2 separate regions of the Homo sapiens genome follow, and region 1 is linked to region 2. Evidence: promoter capture Hi-C in human tissues and cell types (Jung and others, 2019). All regions are on one chromosome and are shown on one strand. Each heading gives the region's core, a stretch centred on a gene start or on the middle of the fragment in contact. The rest is flanking DNA. Distances are from core to core; before and after follow the strand shown.

Region 1 (5,235 bases), core at 151-2,650, 300 kb before region 2:
TCTGCAGACTCTCGGATAATCAATGCTCTCCCTCAAATAGGTGAGAGGTGGGAGGGCCATCATGTCCCCATGCTACTCTCTTCTGTGTCTCCCCTCTTACTCAGCCACTCATTCCCACTTAGCTCTGTGGAAGGGAAAAAGCAAGGAGGGGGCAACTTAAGAAGAAATGTGTATTTCTTCTTTTTTCTGGTGGCTTTATACCCAATTTTATAGCTATGCTAAAGAGGCTGGGCGCAGTGGCTCACACCTATAATCCCAGCACTTTGAGAGAATGAGGCAGGTGGATCATCTGAGGTCAGGAGTTCGAGACCAGCCTGGCCAATATGATGAAACCCCGTCTCTACCCAAAATACAAATATTAGCTGGGCGTGGTGGTGGGCACCTGTAATCCCAGCTACTCGGGAGGCTGAGGCAGGAGAATCGCTTGAACCTGGGAGGCATAGGTTGCAGTGAGCTGAGATCGTGCCATTGCACACCAGCCTGGGCAACAAGAGCAAAACTCTGTCTCAAAAAAATAAATAATAAATAAAATAAAAGTCAAAAAATAAAAATAAATAGCTATGGTAAAGAAAACATGGACAGATAAGTGATGGGAAATTCGGCCCAAAGGGAAAGCCACAGAAGCCAAAACTAGTGTTTAAATTCTCAGCACAGTCTAATTCATTCATCCAATTACACTGCCCAGTAACCAACAGAGGCAAGAGTGAGCAATTTCATGTTAGAAGAAAGCTGGTGAAGAGGGGGGCATGCATGTACACACAAGGATGGGATCAGTTCAGCCCAAGGTTTATTAAAGACTGACTATGGCTAAGTCACTGGCACTCCAAAAGTAGACAGTGCAATAGTGAGGATTCAAATCAATTCCAAAATAATTAAATGGACAGAGCACCTACCATGTATCAGGAACTACTAGATGGATGGGAGACAGTGATGAAAGCAATATAGAGACACATGGAACCTCTCCTCATAGGTCTATTAGTTGATAGAATAAGGCAAGTAGGGCTGGGCATGGTGGCTCATGCCTGTAATCCCAGCACTTTGGGAGGCTGAAGCAGGCAGATCATGAGGTCAGGAGTTCGAGACCAGCCTGACCAACGTGGTGAAACCCCATCTCTACTAAAAATACAAAAAAATTAGCTGGGTGTGGTGGCGCACACCTTTAATCCCAGCTGCCTAGGAGGCTGAGGCAGAAGAATCGCTTGAACCTGGGAGGCGGAGGTTGCAGTGAGCTGAGATCGTGCCACTGCACTCCAGCCTGGGCGACAGAGCAAGACTCCGTCTCAAAAAAAAAAAAAAAAGAGTAAGACAAGTATTTAGTTGAATAAAATATATGGCAAAAGATGGTAAGTACAAACAAGTATTAAGGAGTTTTAACACAAAGAAAGAATATCAAATGAGAGGCAGATCCTAAAAGGCCTAATAAACACTGACCTCCCCGCCCCGCACCGTGCTTCCACGACACTCTGTGCATCGCTCCATCACTAGACCTTGCAATAACCATCTGTTCAGTGTTTCCCTTAGCTCACTACACTATTAGCAGAGACTTCACCTGATTCACGTCTGTATCCCCAGCGTCCAGGACATGATGGAGAGTCAGTGTTTGCTGACTGATTGAGGGTGGCTGTGGTTTCACTGACAGTAGGTAGAGGGGAGTGGTAAACAGGAGGGAAGAAGAGAGCTGGAGAAGCCTTAAACCAGCAACAGGAGTTTAACAGACAGAGCTGGCACTCAAGGCAGAAGAAAAAATACGTGAAAAGGCACACAGAATAGGAAATATTCTGAGAGTATTTGGCTGGAGCAGAGATTATAAAAGAGAACAGTGGAAGATAAGACTGGAGGGGAGGTTAGAGCCACATCTTGGAGTAAAGAAAATGGAAACCCACTTGAAAATGCTTGAGAATGAGAATGTGGGGTGTAGGCAAAATAACAGACCCCAAAGACGTCGACACACTCATCCCTGGAACCTGTGGCTGTGTTACCTTGCATGGCGAAAGGCACTTTGTAGATGTGATTAAGGTTAGGGACCTTGAGATGGAGAGAGTGTCCTGGCTCATCTAGGTGCGTCCAATCTAATTACAAGAGTCCTTAAAATCAGAAAACCTTTCCCAGCAGCAGTGATGTGATGACAGAAGAGGCAGGAGACCGGGCGCGGTGGCTCACGCCTGTAATCCCAGCACTTTGGGAGTGTGAGGCAGGCAGATCATGGATCACTTGAGGCCAGGAGTCCCAGACCAGCCTGGCCAACATAGTGAAACCCCGTCTCTACTAAAATACAAATATTAGCTGGGCGTGGTGGGGCACACCTGTAATCCCAGCTACTCGGGAGGCTGAGGCAGAAGAATCACTTGAAGCTGGGAGGTGGAGGTTGCAGTGAGCCAAGATCACATCACTGCACTCTAGCCTGGGTAACAGAGTGAGACTCGGTCAAAAAAAAAAAAAAAAAAAAGGGGGAAGAGCACAGCAGGCAGGAGAGATTCTCAACGTGGGAGAGATGGATCCTCTGTGCCCTTCCTAGGTATCTGAATTGCCTCGCCTCTTTCAGGCTGCTACTGAAATGTTGCCTTTCCCCATCCCAGCACGAACACTTCCTATTGCCTCCCTTCCCTGATATATTTATTTGTTTTTGTCTCATTAGCACGTCACCCATTAACCTATCCTGTGATATCCACATTTATTCATTCAGTTTCTGATTTCACAAAGTGAAAACAAGTTCAGATAACAAGGCATAATACATTATCCAAATTTGATTGAGTCCTGAGTTTTGGATACCATGTAGTAAGAGTTCATAGAGCAAAGGATTCATCCAAAAATTTACCTGAATCCATTCAGTTCCTGAGCTCTTTTATAGGGAGAGTTCGGATAGTGTAAGACTGGATAGCATCAGATACTTTGTCTATAATTTGCTTATTTTATGATTCACTTTCAGAGTTCCCTTACACTAGACTGTAAGCTCCATGAGGTCAGGTATTCTTGCCTGTTTTACTCACTACAATATCCCCAGCACTTAGAACAGTGTCGAGCACATAGTAGACACTCAAATATTTGTTAAGTGAATTACTACTTATAAATGTAGGAGCATCTGAGCACCAAGGAAAGCATGCACAGGAGAAAAAGAAAAAGTCCAGGGGGAACACAGGGACCACCTCTGAGGGAAGGGAATGAAGAAGCAAAGAAAAAGGGACAGAGAAGACAGAGGAGGAGAAGTAGGAAAAGAAAGTACCAGGCAAGCAAGGAGGGACATGCAGTTTCTAAAGGGGGTGGTCCGCAGTGCTGAATGCGGCAAAGGTCTCTAGGTTTATCATTAGAAGAATGATAGTAACATCAAGGTGAACAAATTGTTGAGGTGGAAGCAGAAGCCAGGTGACAAAGGGCTGAAGAGTGAACACAGGGAAAGGCAGTGAAAAGAATGAAAACAGAAGACGTTCTAGAAAGGTTTAACAAAGCAAAGGAGAAAGATGAAGCATCTGTGAAGGGTGTTTGCGATGTTTACTGTTGTTTTGTTTTGTTTTATTTTGTGAGAATAGAAGAAAGGCTAAGCTCAGAGAGCAGGGACTGTGTGTCCGTTTGGTCACTGCTGTATCCCTGGGGCCTGGCACAGATCCTGACACAAAGCAGTCATGAAATGGAGAGTGGCCGGGTGCAGTGGCTCACGCCTGTAATCCCAGCACTTTGGGAGGCCGAGGTGGGCGGATCATGAGGTCAGGAGTTCGAGACCAGCCTGGCCAATATGGTGAAACCCCATCTCTACTACAAATACAAAAATTAGCTGAGCGTGGTGGCTGGTGCCTATAGTCCCAGCTACTCGGGAGGCTGAGGCAGGGGAATCACTTGAACCCAGGAGGCGGAGGTTGCAGGTGAGCCAAGATCACACCACTGCATTCCAGCCTGAGCGACAGACTGAGACTCCGTCTCAAAAAAAAGAAAAAGAAAAAAAAGAAATGGAGAGCTCATGCTGAATGGACTGAGGGGAAAACCACAGTGCCTAAGGGATTAAAGAAGGCTCTGGAGAAAGGAGAACCCAAATCAGAGTTAGCCCTGAAAAGAGACCAGTTGTCTACAGACACAGAGACAAGGGAAGAAAGAAGAGAGGATTTGGAGTGAAGGCATCGGCGAGAGATGCTGGCGGAGCCCATGCCGAAGGGCCTTGATATTTTCACTGAAGATGTTGAAGGAAGACTCATTTCCCCACAGCAAGAGGGAAGATTTGTTGGTAGTCTTGGGAAGAAACCTGAAATAGTCACCATCAGGAAGGATGAAGAGTCAATAAGAAAGGAATAAAAGGCATGAGTAATAATAAATAGACACATAAGAACCAAATTCAGTCTTACAGATTCCACTTAGGGCGCTAACCCATTATATAAGAGACAGCACGTTCAAGCCGTCACATACCTGAGGTGGGCTTAGACCACTGCAAGTCAACCGCAACAAGGTCCTCCAGCTCCTGCTCTGCTTGAATGGGAGAGACAGAGAGGATGCGGACAGACTGATATGCCGCAGTGTTAGACAACTCCCTTGTAGCATTAAATATCTGGAAAAGAAATTGAAACGTCATTTAACCTAGCAGGTGGTGAACTAGCCTGACACCTCTTAGTAAACATCAGTCCTCTGAGCTCCTGAGCTTTCAATATACTGAGATCAAATTAATAACCAAAACCAATGGGCTGCACTGAATCACCTTGATCCACTTTTACCAAAAGAGACCAGGATGAATCATGTTCCCAAAGAGGGTAGAAATATAATGAAATCTGTGATCTTAAGGAGCAGGTCTATGTTAGACAAGAGGAGCCGTGAAGTAGCTGAGGCTAAAGAATATTGCCCAGCACTTACAACACTCTGATACCTTGAAACTGAAATATTTCTACTCTGAAAAAGTATCTCATAACACAAAACCAGACCAATTAACTTCTTCTTTTTTTTTTTTTTTTGTGTGTGAGACAGTCTTGCTCTCTCGCCCAGGCTGGAGTGTAGTGGCCAATCTCAGCTCACTGCAAGCTCCGCCTCCCAGGTTCACACCATTCTCCTGCCTCAGCCTCCCGAGTAGCTGGAACTACAGGCGCCCACCACCATGCCCAGCTAATTTTTTATATTTTTAGTAGAGACGGGGTTTCACCGTGTTAGCCCGGATGGTCTCAATCTCCAGACCTCGTGATCCGCCTGCCTTGGCCTCCCAGAGTGCTGGGATTACAGGTGTGAGCCACCGCACCCAGCCAATTAACTTCTTTTTAAAATGGTGCT
Region 2 (5,620 bases), core at 924-3,423:
CCCTAAATTCTCCCATATCTCTCCCGCATCATTAGTTTTCTCCTGTCTATTGGTTAATTTCCATCAATAACAAATATATGCTATGATCTTAAAGAACTCTCCAATGATCCTACCTCTACGTTCAGCCACCTCTTTCGCTGTGTCCCTTCACAACAAAATTCATGGAAAGAATTGTCTAAAATTGCTGTCTCCAATTCCTTCTCCTACTCTTTCTTGCCTAGCCCATCAGGCTTTTGCTCTCCAACTACTCTAAAGACACTGCTCTTTTAAAAGTTATCAATCACTTCCACATGGTCAAATCCAATAGTCAATTTTCAGTCCTTACCTTATTTGATCTGTCAGTAGGATTTAACACAGATTGTCTGCCCTCAATGGAACATTTCTTTTTCACCTGGCTTTCAAGGTATCACACCCTCATAGTTTTCTTCCTTGGTTTACTGATTAATCCTTCTCAATCTCTTAGCATTCTCCTCCTCTTTTTCTCAGCCTCTGTAATACTGACATACCCTGGGGCTGTTTTAGGATTTATTCTTTTATCTGTCTATATTCAACCCCTTGATGACTCCATCCAGTCTCATGGCTTTAAATCTACAGGCTAACGACTCTTAGATTTATATTTGTAGCCCAGAACCCTTCTCTGAGCTCCAGACACTTTTTCTCATACTATCTTCTCGGATGTTGATTAGATAAAACTTTATCTGCCCCAAACTGAACTCCTGATCTTCCCCTTTCCAAATCTACTCCTTCCACCATCTTCACTATCTCAGTAAATAGTAATTTCATCCTGACAGCTGCTCAGGATGAAACCCCTAGTTTTCCTTGACATCTCTCCCTCACACAATCCATATCCAAACCTTCAACAGATCCTGAAAGTTTTGCCTCCCAAATAGATACAGAATCCAACCACTTATCATCATCTCCACCACTACCTCCTTGATCCAAGACATCACAATCCCTTAACTGAATTATTGCAATAGCCACCTAATTGGTCTTCTTTACAGTCTATTCTCACTACAGCATTCGGAATTATTATTTTTTTAATTTTGTCACATTATGGTGTTCCTTTGCTCCAAACCTTGCTCCAGTGGCTCCCCATCTCAACACCTATGGTGGCTTACGATGTTTGATCGGATTGCCTGCTTGACCTACTGTCTCAGCATTCTTCCACTCTCCCTCTGCTCCAGTCACACTATCCTCCTGACTTTTTCTCAACCAGGCAATGCTTCCACCTTGGGGCGTTTATACTTGCTGTTATATCTGGAACATGTTTATAAAGCCTCCGTTGAAGAGCACAGTGGCTTCTTCCATTAACTCATTTAAGTCTTTGCTGAAAAGTATCTCAGTGCAGCTTCTCTGGACGTTCTAATATTTCATCCCTCCAATCCCCACCCTGCCCACCACACTCCCTATCCGCTTTCTTTGCTTTTACTCCACATCACACACATTTACTTACTCATTGTTTATTCGCTTATTTCCCCTCACTCTATTGTGAATTCCCTGAGCAGGGATATTTGTTTCGTTCATAGCTATGTATCTCCGGTGCTTGGAACAGTACTGGTTTATAAAAAGTTAGTAGTAATGTATGTTAATCGAATGAATAAATTATCCTACAGAGATAATTGAGTGTCTCTGGATTACAGCAGAGCTTGCAGCAGAGAGGGAGACCACTCAACAGGCCGTGATGTCCAAATATAATAAGATGTATGAAACAGTACTGTAAAATTAGCTGCACAAAGGATCCGAAAAATTTGTTAGCTTAGTTTGTTTCTCCAGGAAGCCGTGCCAGGCTCGCCTCCCTCTTTCATTCTTTTCCCGTGATTCCCTCTACTGGGACTCCTGACCCTCCTAGTCGCCAGATCACAGGCCCAACGCATCCCTTTCCGGAGGGATTTAGGAAGTCTCGGCGTTGGTCCAGGAACGACAGTCCCACCGCGCCTCACATGGCGCATTACCCAGCGACTCCGCTTACCCACACGTCCCCGCCCCCTCAGCCGGACAGGAAGAGGAAATGACGATACCTCGGGCGCTCGAAACTCCACCTCTCACGCCTTCCCAGCTCCGGGAGGGGACGCGGGCTCCGGAAAGGGCGGGCATAAGGCTACGGATGGGCGGGACGGAGCAGCCCACCGCAAAGTGGCGGTCTACTTGAGGCGGTTACCTTAGTACTCCGAGTAGACTGAGTCTGTGGCGAGCTGCGGGCCGATTCCTGGCCAGTGCCATCTCAGCCGGAGCAGGCCTCGGGGCCTCAGAAGCAGGCTTTTATCTGGCCCGAGGCTCCCAGCCGTTCAGCGCGTCTTCCCATAACCTATACCGATTATTGGGACTCTCGGCTGCAGACACAGGTCCCCGCCCCTCCCTCTTTCTCCGGGTTGCAGCTGTCATTCCTCCCTTCCCGCCTCGCTGCGCCCACAGCTGAGGACAGTCTTCGTTCTCTCATTCCCATCCTTTCTCTTCCCTCTCATCGCCATTTCTTCTAGAAGGCAACTTAAAAACCTTTCTTTGCCTCTTTATTTCTTCCCATTTCTCTTCCCTTCTTTTCTTCCTTTTTCTCTAGAATCCGTGTGTTTCCACTTCATGCCAGGCTTCTGCCTCCAGGGCTTCTCTCCTTTTCACGGGCCTGTGGCTCATGTGTTAGGAGGTTGAACTTTTAATGCAGTCATTTGAAGATTTTAAGCTTTTTCTTTCTCCTAATCAGGAGTCACAGATGCTGGGAAGTATGGCCCGAAAGAAACCTCGAAATACCTCAAGGTTGCCCCTGGCTTTAAACCCCCTGAAGAGCAAGGACGTGTTGGCAGTGCTGGCTGAGAGGAACGAGGCTATAGTACCAGTTGGGGCATGGGTGGAACCTGCCTCACCAGGTAGTTCGGAAATCCCAGCATATGTGAGTGTCAGTTTGATCCAAATATGGTGGGGTTCCCCACCACCCTTTTTATTAGCCTTCTCTAATCCTGGGTGCTTAAAGATGAACAGTCCGAGGATGCTGTTTCTATTCTGCCATAAATAGTTTATGCTCTTGCATTAGGATTATAGAACAAGTATTTGCCAAAACTTGACTGCAGCTTTAGTTGGCATAATCAAATATTTATTACTCACCTACTATAATATATAGAGCATAATCTACATGGAACAGGTTATATAGATATATATCTGTATATCAGTTTACTTCAGACTCTTGATTGCTTGTTATGCCCAAGACATAAGCACTATCTACATCTTCCAGACACTGCAACTTAGTATGGATGATAGTTGGCATACTTCAAGTAACATTAATTGGTTGCTTAAGGTTTATGATAAATTTTGTAATGAGGATTCAGGCAAAATGGAGTAATAGAATAAAGGAGAAAGAGATGAACTCTGATAATCTGAGAAAGTCTAACTAGAAATTCCATGGTTTCTGATAGTCTTTCACCAAACTGTGCCCCTTAGCTATTTGTTCAAATTTAACTTGGCACTTACCACATTGTGTTATAGTAGATTGTTTATATATCTTTTCCTGATGCAGTGTGAGCTCCTTGAGCGTAGAGAACAAATGTCATTTATCATCACATTCCCACTTTTATCTTAAATACTGCCTAATCAATATAGACACTCATGAAGTATTTATGAAAGGCACAAAATGTCTTCTGTATGTGTAGACAAGGTGCTGAACATGGATGAAAAAAGGATGAGATATGTTCCCTCAGTGTACTTGATCTCAGAAGAGAAATGAGATGTGTTTAAATGTTAAAGTAATGCAATATACTATATTCATTTTATTTATGTTTGCACATATGTATGTATATTCATTGATTTATTCCTACCCTGCCTATTTCCAAAAAGGATTTTAAGAGTCTAGGTGGTATCTCTATCTAAGTTCTAAGAATATAATGCTCAATCAAGAAGCTATGACGTTGGGTTGATGTGACCCAGGAAAGTGTAATGAAGAATTTGATCGGAGAAGGGAAGGGAATGATTCTCCTATTAAGGAGAATGAGGAGAGTAAGAAGTAAGCAAGGTTCAGGATTCTAAGGGTAGATTAGATCGATTGGAGTGGAAAGCTTAGTAGGAGAATGGTTGCTGACAGGATTATGGAAAATAGGGATGGTAGAGTACCTTAGGAAATTTTGGAGAAGGGATTGACTTTGTTTAATATTTACAGGTGAATGTCATGATCAACCAGTGTTTTCTTTAGATGAATTGCTTCAAAGGTTTTGAAGGATAGGGAGTGATTGGATCCTGGGGATAAATTAGAATATAATTATAATAATTTAAGCATGGAGTATAGCATCGAAACTTTGTTAGTGGTAAGAAATAGAGAAGAACAGCCTTGAAAAAGGATGATTGAAGTGCTTGAGCCCACGAATTGTAGGCTGCAGTGAACTATGATCATACTACTGCACTCTAGCCTGGGCAATAGAGTGAGACCCCATCTCTGGAAAAAAAAAAGGAGTGGAATGAGAAGGGATGAATGCAGGAAACACCCCACAAGACTTGGTAAGATTTGGTATAAAGATATTTTGGTATTTAAGTTGTTGACACCTCTTTGTAATTGCTCAAATTACATCTGTATAATATCAGTAGTGTCAACATGCCTAAAATTTGACACCATCAAACTTTTTCTATGTTAAGAAGTATTGACTATCGTATTCACACACATTAACTCAAAATATTAAAGTCTTGGAACATGGATAAACATATCTCCTTTTCCTGATTTAAAAATTTCTGATCAGTTCCAGCCAAAGGGAGTTTGATCAAGCATCTAATAGAACTCCTTATAGCTTTAGCATATCTAGTCTGGGTATCCACCCTTATTAACGGATATAGCTCTGTCAGCTCAAAATAAATGCTGAATAGTTACTTCTAAAGCTTGGCCCTTAGATCATGTCTGTTCTAAAGGGGAACTTCTACTCATTTTTCTCCCCAAAATTTCAGGGGGCCATCAGGATTCCTAAAAATGTCATAGCTTTAGACTACCTCCCCCCAATAATTATTAATAAATTAGCATCAAAAGACACTGCTGTTCTATCATCATATATGGGATTGCATTATTTTATAATTTGTTCTGGTTACCTTTTGCTGTGTAACCAACCACCCCAGAACTTAGTGGTATAAAGCAAATAATACTATGTAACAGGAATTTGAGCAGGGTACAGTGGTAATGGCTTGTTTCTGCCCCATAGTGTCTGGGACCTCAGCTGGGGCTCAAATAACTGGACATGTCTGAGACACCTTGACTATTTTCCGGCTATTGGCTGGAGCTAGACAATAGTCAAGTTCTCCCAGTAATGTGGCACCTGCTGGGCTGTAATGTCCAAGATGGCTTTCTTATTCACATATCTGACGCTTGGCCTAGGATGACTAGAATGTCTGGGTGCTGGTTAGATATGTTTCTCTTTTCACATGGCTTCTCTGTTTGACTAACTTGGGCTTCCTCACAGCATGGTAATCTCAGGGTAGTCTGAATTTTTATATGGTGCTGACTTCCTTCAGAATGAGCACTCTAAGAACAGAGGTGGAAGTTTCTTTATGACCTGGCTTGTAATCTTGTGGAGTAAAAGAGGAGCAGAGAAAATGGAGGTAAAAGAAAGAGGCCGAATGGCTTAAACTTGTCTGGGGCTTGAGTTAAGCTGGGTCAGTTGTT

What was found. Contacts are between HindIII fragments. The study calls those that stand out against the background at their distance.
Region 1: a fragment that was not itself captured here is called in contact with the fragment with the promoter of CCDC15 in region 2 in 1 of the 25 tissues and cell types used here (neural progenitor cells).

What each region holds. Positions count from the first base shown.
Region 1 is chr11:124,650,266-124,655,500 of GRCh38, forward strand. SIAE (sialic acid acetylesterase) reads right to left here. Exons shown (of 10, transcript NM_170601.5): 4 at 4,390-4,528. Among named protein-coding and RNA genes, the nearest start is that of SIAE, 21 kb to the right of the region's middle. The HindIII fragment of the contact is 7,658 bases long and covers 1-5,229 here.
Region 2 is chr11:124,952,029-124,957,648 of GRCh38, forward strand. It overlaps CCDC15 (coiled-coil domain containing 15), which reads left to right and starts at 2,174. Exons shown (of 16, transcript NM_025004.3): 1 at 2,174-2,342; 2 at 2,696-2,881. The coding sequence starts at 2,705. CCDC15-DT (CCDC15 divergent transcript) reads right to left here and starts at 1,963. Exons shown (of 3, transcript XR_948134.3): 1 at 1,454-1,963. RefSeq lists an enhancer at 1,834-2,377. The HindIII fragment of the contact is 10,363 bases long and covers 1-3,355 here.